2 separate regions of the Homo sapiens genome follow, and region 2 is linked to region 1. Evidence: promoter capture Hi-C in human tissues and cell types (Jung and others, 2019). All regions are on one chromosome and are shown on one strand. Each heading gives the region's core, a stretch centred on a gene start or on the middle of the fragment in contact. The rest is flanking DNA. Distances are from core to core; before and after follow the strand shown. Region 1 holds the start of SLC45A3 (solute carrier family 45 member 3). Region 2 holds the start of LOC124900423 (small nucleolar RNA SNORA72).

Region 1 (3,427 bases), core at 530-3,029:
CTGCTGACTCAAGCTGCATTTTCTGAGCACTTTCAGAACAACAGAGTCCTGGCTCCACGACAGGCCTGGTGGGAGGAGATAAGGGAGGAATGAGGGAATGGGACTGATCCAACAGAATGGCCTGCGACCTCAAATTGCGTCCCACTTATCCCCTACAATATGCTGCTCTATGGGTTTCCTCAGGCTTCCCGTCTAGCCTGGGCCTCCTGGGCCCTCCCACTCCCACCCCAATAGGCCAGCCTGTTTCCCAGGCCTCGGGCAGGTGAGTCTACACCAAGGCGGTCTCTGCTCTGAAAGGAGATCTGCTAAGTGCCTCAGGAAAGGTAGTCCGAAGCCCCTAGGACCTCAACCCCACCCCTGAGCAAAGGTTCCAGGACCCCAGCAAGGGTCACTGCGGGCCCTGGTCAACTGGCAATGCCCGGCTGCAGACTCCAGGGCAGCAAGACAGCAGCTGGGCTATTCTTAGTCCCTGCTCCACCGGGACCGGGTCTGTGTAACAGCTGAAGGGCGAGTCCTCACCAGGTACCCACCATGCCAAACCCCTCCCTACCCCCAACTCTGGCCCCTTGGAAAAAGAGGAAGCATAGGGAACACGCCCTGGAGTGGGGAAAAGCTGAGCAGGTCAAGAGTGTCTGTCAGGAAGATGGAGGCTGATTCAGAGGTCAAGGGCAAGAGCAACTCACAGGACTGCAGTGCCTGGGGGGAGCGGAAGACTACAGGAAGGCCTGACCCGCACTAGGGAGAAAGCATGCAGGTCCCTGGGGCTTTTCTAGCAAGCCTGCCTAGGCCCAGAGCTCTGAGAAGCTGCACGGGATGCCTAGGTACCACCACATCACACCTGTTTGCCGTTTGCAGAACTCTGTCCTTCCCCACCTGAGACCTGGGAGGCGAGGAGAAAACAGCGGCCTTTCTCTCCCCACAGAGGGGGAAACTGAGGCTGAAAAGGGGACACAGTAACACACACACACACACACACACACACACACACACACACACGGTCCAGTCCCAACTCTGTACCCAGAGCTCGCCCCAGTTCTAAGTCCAAGAGGGCTCAGTCCCCTTTCCCTGTCTTAATAACTCACTCTTCCTCAAGAAAGCCGGCCTGGGCCTGAGCACCCCGCGGCGCCGCGGCCGTCGGCTCCCGTCCCGGCTCCCCCAAGTCCCGGACTGTGCGCGCCGCAGTGACTCATCCTGCCCCTTTCCGGTGAAGCCCAGACAAGAGAAGAAAATAAACGCAACTTTCCAAAGAAAAGTCTGACACGGGAGGCTGCAACAGGAGCCAGCGGCCGGTCCGCCAGCCGTCGGCCCGGCCCGGTCCGGCCCGGCCCGGGGCTCCGGGGAGGGGCCGCTCCCCGCCCACACCGCCGCCCCGCCTGGGACAGCGCGGGCACCTCCTGCCTGCCCGCCCTCCGCGGAAGAAAGCACAGCTCAGCGGGGACCCGTGCAGGCGCCGGGCACTCGGCACCCGCCCCGGCAGAGCGTGTGGGACGCGCCCTCCTCTGGGATTCGCGCGGGGCTCGGCGCGCAGCGCCCCGGACGGCCACGGCGCAGCCCCATCCCGCGGGGCGCAAAACACGCGACAGCGCGGAGCTCGGCCGTGCACTGCTGCTCCCTTTCCCGCGCCGGGACCCTCACCCCTGGGAGAGGAGGGGGCGCGCTCCTACCTGGCCGAGGCGCGCGGCTGTCACCCGGAGCCAGCGCGTGCAGGCTGGTTCCGCCCCCCCTTCCTTGCCCCCCACGCGCGCCAGCCGGCGGCTTTTAAATCTCCAGGTTACTCCGCGGGGGGAGAGAGCATGCGCGCTGGGACTGCCAGGAGGGGGGCGGGGCGAGGCGGGACGGAGGTGGGGGGTGCTGCGAGGGGGGATAGAGGGGTGGGGCTGGTACCCAGGGGAAGAAAGCGGGAGGTCTCGAAGCTGGCTTTGTAGCCGCGCCGCGACGGGCAGCCCCCGCGTGGCTCCCAGACTGCCCTATCATTACCTAGGGCAGGGCACCGCCCCCTCTGTCGCTCGCCACCAAACATTTAGGTGAAAGCTACCCGGCTTCGCGGGGCACCTCCCCTCCCCTACTCGGAGCCAGTCTGCTGCGACCATTACCCAGGCGTGCCATTCTGGCCACCCGATCTCCAGGCAGAGCTGCTCCCTACCTGTCCAGGACCATCCCTTCAAAGGAGATGTCACATTCTCTCCGAATTACCCTTCTGCTCTTTGCTATTCTCCGACGCAGACAGAGCTAACTCAATCCCTCTTTCTGCGCTGAAAACCAAATTCCAATTTTTTTTCTTCTTAAGAGTGTGTACGGGGAAGAATGGATGATAAATTGCCAATGAAATGTTCTCTTTGTCAGCTGTTGAGCAAGGTCCGAACAGATACCTGTTCCAGAATGTCTTTGATGGAGTCCCAGGCTGGCCCTGGGGTTGGGGGTTGGGGGGCAGTTTTGTCTTTTTTTCCTCCATGGAGTTTTATTGGGTGGAGAGAAATCCAATTTAGTTGGATTGTTGACTTGAATACTACAAAGTCCCAGGAAGATGCCTTCGAAGGGGAAGACCTGGTTGGCCTTAGCCAACCAGGCACTGGGGCACTGGGTTCCAATGCTGGCCCTGTGTCAACAGCCGTATAACGTGGGCCAAGTCCCTTCCATGTTCTGGGCCTCTGTAAGAGGGGGTGAGCCAAATGATTTCTAAGGGCACCTTCCAGCTGAGAGGTAGAAGGAGGCAGAGAAGAAAGGGAGATAGAGAAGGGAGAGGAAATAGTGGCGCCCTGGTGGTAGTGGGGAACAGAGAGCAGGTGCCAGAGAGAGTTGAGAAGAGAAAAATCAAGAATCTACCTTCTGAGTCACTAAACAAGTTTAACTTGAAAACTGTCTCAGCGTTGCCTCCCTGGAGCAGACACACCTCTACCTGGGGACCCTCCTGGAGATGGCTTTCCAAAGTCTTTGGCATACCCTCTCGTGGCAAGCAGAGAGACTAGGGTGGAGTCCAGGGTCTCTGAGCTGGTGTCCCCTCTCCTCCAGGAAAGAGGTCAGGAGTCAGGGGAAATTTCAGGTCAGCTGGAAAATTACAGAGCCAGGAGAGAGTGGACGGTGGTATTTTGCAGGCTTGGGAAAGAACACTGGGAACATGAGAGAGTTGTCGCACCACAGACAAGTAAGAGCCCCCCTCTTCCTCCTGCCTCCCACCACTTCTTTCCAGGGGCCCTTGTGCTTTATGCCTTATGACAGGGGGATGAGGAAGGAGAGCTCAGGGGAGTGAGCACACAGCCTGGATCCCATGGTGATCCTGGGCCCTACCCAATCACCCCTTCCCAACTAAACCAGGTGGATGCACTGGCCAGGCCCCACCCAATACAGGGTACAGTAGGGCTCTCTGCTCTGAAAATCCCCCTCTTTCTGCTGATGTAGCCTCATGTTATAATAATAATAGTTGGCCAGG
Region 2 (3,649 bases), core at 285-2,784, 51 kb after region 1:
AAAAAAAAGAAAAGAAAAAAAAAGAAAATTATTTAATTAATTTTTTGAGACAGGGTGTCACTCTGTCGCCTAGGCTGGAGAGCAGTGACACAATCATGGCTCACTGCAACCTTGACCTACTGGGCCCAAGTAATCCGCCTGCCTCAGCCTCCTGAGTAGCTGGGACTACAGACGCATGCTGGCTAATTTTTTTTCATTTTTTGTAGAGACAGGGTCTCCTGGTGTTGCCCAGGCTGGTCTCAAACTCCTGAGCTCAGGTAGTCATCCTGCCTCAGCCTCCCGAAGTGCTGGGATTACAGGCACGAGCCACTGCACCCAGCCAAAAATTATTTTTTAAAGGCCCCCACTTAAGCCTAAGTACTTAACATTCTGTTATAAGAAAGCATAGCATAAACCACAAGTATGTCAAGCTACAATTCTCATACTGCTCATCTCAGTGATAATTCAAATACCATTCTTTTCTCTCTCTTTTTTTTTTTTTGAGATGAAGTCTTGCCCTGTCGCCCAGGCTAGAGTGCAATGGCGAGATCTTGGCTCACTGCAACCTCTGCCTCCCAAGTTCAAGCGATTCTCCTGCTTCAGCCTCCCGAGTAGCTGAGATTACAGGCGTGTGCCACCACGCCTGGCTAATATTTGTATCTTTAGTAGAGACGGGGTTTCACCATGTTGGCCAGGCTGGTCTCCCCTGATCTCGTGATCCGCCCGTCTTGGCCTCCCAAAGTGCTGGGATTACAGGCGTGAGCCACCGTGCCCGGTCTCAAATACCATTCTTTTCTACAAAACAATCTCCCGTCTCTCAAAACAAATATACATAAAACAGCAAAATGAGCCAAATCACCATGTACCTATGTATTCATTATATACAAAGATGCCCTATTTATAAGCTAAAGTTGTAAATGATATTTTACTCTTACTGCTACACACATATATATGTATACTTGATAAACAAGGTTATTACTAAGCTTTTCAAGGCAAAAGCAATTTTTAGGTATAGTACAGTTACATTATAATGCACAAAAATTATGGTAATGTTAAGCTTTATACAGAAGGGGAAGGAAACAAATTAATTGGTCCAGTCAAAAGATGCTTTATTTAAAAAACTATGAAAGCCTCACAGATTTATGTACATCTATGTATTTGACTCTATTCTTTTGTTTCTAAACTTTTTTTTTCCTTTTCCAATTTTACAGACCTGGTTTATCAGCAACATTTATAAAACTAGACCTCAGGAAAGAACTAGTTCTGGGGATATATGCATGGTCTTAATAAAGTGAATGGTTAGCCTGTCCTGACTATTACAAAATCAAAACAGTGAGAATATCTGCAGAATCTATTTGACTCTAAATGACTTTAAGTACTCCCTATCAAGTAACGTATCTTTAACATCTCAAACAAATCTTCATTTCTATTTTTGTACTCTGCACTCTAAATCTAAAAGTTTAATACTTCTTCTCTAGAGATATACATGTAAGCTTCCATGTTAGTACCCAAACAGCCTACCTGGCAAAAGAGCCTTAGATTAAAAAATGCACTGTTACTGTAGGCCTAAATTGATCAAGTGAACTTAAAAAATTAAGAGAAATAGGCCAGGCGCAGTGGCTCACGCCTATAATTTCACCACTTTGGGAGGCCGAGGCGGGCAGATCACGAGGTCAGGAGATTGAGACCATCCTGGCCAACGTGGTGAAACCCCGTCTCCACTAAAAATACTAAAAAATTAGCTGGGTGTGGTGGCGGGCGCCTGTAGTCCCAGCTACTCGGGAGGCTGAGGCAGGAGAATGGCTTGAACCCGGGAGGCAGAGCTCGCAGTGAGTGAGCCAACATCACGCCACTGCACTCCAGCCTGGGCGAAAGAGAGAGACTCCGTCTCAAAAAAAAAAAAAAAATTTAAGATAAATATACATTACCACCTATACTTAAACCTGAGCAGAGGGATATTCTTGGCTGTATAGATTAAGACACCATTTAAATTCAAAGACAGGATGGTCAGACTGCAAACACTGGTCCACCTTCTAGTATAGTATGTGGAGATGGTATGGATGGAGGTGAATTCTGGAAAAAAAGGCTTGGGCTTATATGTAGAGGAATATATAGTTACATACTCAGCATTAGAAAGAGAAAAAACAAGGCTCTTAAGGAGTTCCACCTTCTGTTTTTCTTTAGTTTAACAAAACTATAAAATATACTCCAACTATATATTTTATTGTAAGAAGCTGAGTTTATATTACCAAAGATACTATATTATTAGGAAAGCTAACTTTAAATATGACTATTAATTCCATGTACATGAGGGACCTAGAGTAGATGAATTCAGAGAGACAGAAAGTAGAGTGGTGGTTGCCAGAGGCTGGAAGAGTGGGGATGAGGAGCTGTTGTTTAGTGGGTTTAGTTTCAGTTTTGCAAGATTAAGAGTTCTTTACAACAATGTCAAGTACTTAACAATACTGAACTATACACTTAAAAATGGTTAACATGGGCCGGGCACAGTGGCTCATGCCTGTAATCCCAGCACTTTGGGAGGCCAAGGTGGGCGGATCATGAGGTCAAAAGATCGAGACCATCCTGGCCAACATGGTGAAAACCCGTCTCTAGTAAAAGTACAAAAATTAGCTGGGCGTGGTGGTGCGTGCCTGTAGTGCCAGCTACTTGGGAGACTGATGCAGGAGAATTGCTTGAACCTGGGAGACAGAGGTTGCAGTGAGCAGGGATCGCACCACTGCACTCCAGCCTGGCAACAGAGCAAGACTCTGTCTCAAAAAAAAAAAAAAAAGTTAAGATGGTAAATTTTATGCTAAGCATATTTTATTACAATAAAAATATATTTTCTTTCTTAAAAATATGACTATGAAAAAATCTAATATTTTTGGGCTACTATGGAAATGCCTGCCATGTTCTGGCAAAACAGTGATTTTTTAATGACAAATGCCATGAAAAATAGTATGATGATCATAATGCAAACACGACCATTTTCTGTATTATTTAGGATAAAAAAAATGGGTCATAGAACCAGGGGAAGAAAGGTATCTAGAAGAGGAACTCTTACATCTTATCCTCTAATAATTAAAATACAGGTTCCGAACTTGTAGGTATAATTCTAGCTTATCCCATGCTTGTGGGGTGGCAACTAACATATTATTACCCCATTTCTGGGTACGACGTAGCAATGGATATATCCTATGAAACTACATAAGGATGGACAACCAGAATGGTAAACGGTATATCATATGAAGAACAAATGAATAAATTGAGAATATTTAACTTGTAAAATGGGAAAACATGTTAGCTACTTTAGGGCTTTGATGTGAAAGGAGTAGTAGAGGTACAGCTTAGCTTTAGCAATCACATTAAGTGTAGGTTCAACATAAAGAGCTTTAACTGTCTGCTAACAATGGCTACTTCCTTACTCTATCACTAGAAACACTCAAGAAAGGAATTAGTATGGACTCTTTGTACTAGGAATCCTGGGTTCTGGTTCTAGAATGTCAAGAAAATCATGTAATTTCTCTGGGCCTTAGTTCTTCCTCTGTTGGAACTGATAACCTAAATTGCTTGACAGATCTAAAAGATATTCTATAAAATTAAATGTTTAAATAATAAATTAAATAATAAATAAAATATTTAATAAATAACATAAATGGCAGGCATTATA

Evidence for each region. The method cuts DNA at HindIII sites, captures the fragments that hold promoters and counts their contacts. A contact is called where the count stands out against the background at its distance.
Region 2: a contact is called between a fragment that was not itself captured here and the fragment with the promoter of SLC45A3 in region 1, in 8 of the 25 tissues and cell types used here (H1 embryonic stem cells, aorta, bladder and 5 more).

The regions. Positions count from the first base shown.
Region 1 is chr1:205,678,730-205,682,156 of GRCh38, forward strand. SLC45A3 (solute carrier family 45 member 3) reads right to left here and starts at 1,780. Exons shown (of 5, transcript NM_033102.3): 1 at 1,665-1,780. LOC105371701 (a long non-coding RNA gene) reads left to right here and starts at 1,641. Exons shown (of 4, transcript XR_007066825.1): 1 at 1,641-1,770. RefSeq lists a silencer at 1,325-1,544. The HindIII fragment of the contact is 16,856 bases long and covers 1-3,427 here.
Region 2 is chr1:205,730,026-205,733,674 of GRCh38, forward strand. All of the region lies in intron 1 of NUCKS1 (nuclear casein kinase and cyclin dependent kinase substrate 1), which reads right to left. It overlaps LOC124900423 (small nucleolar RNA SNORA72), which reads right to left and starts at 1,327; the gene lies at 1,196-1,327. The HindIII fragment of the contact is 6,338 bases long and covers 1-3,649 here.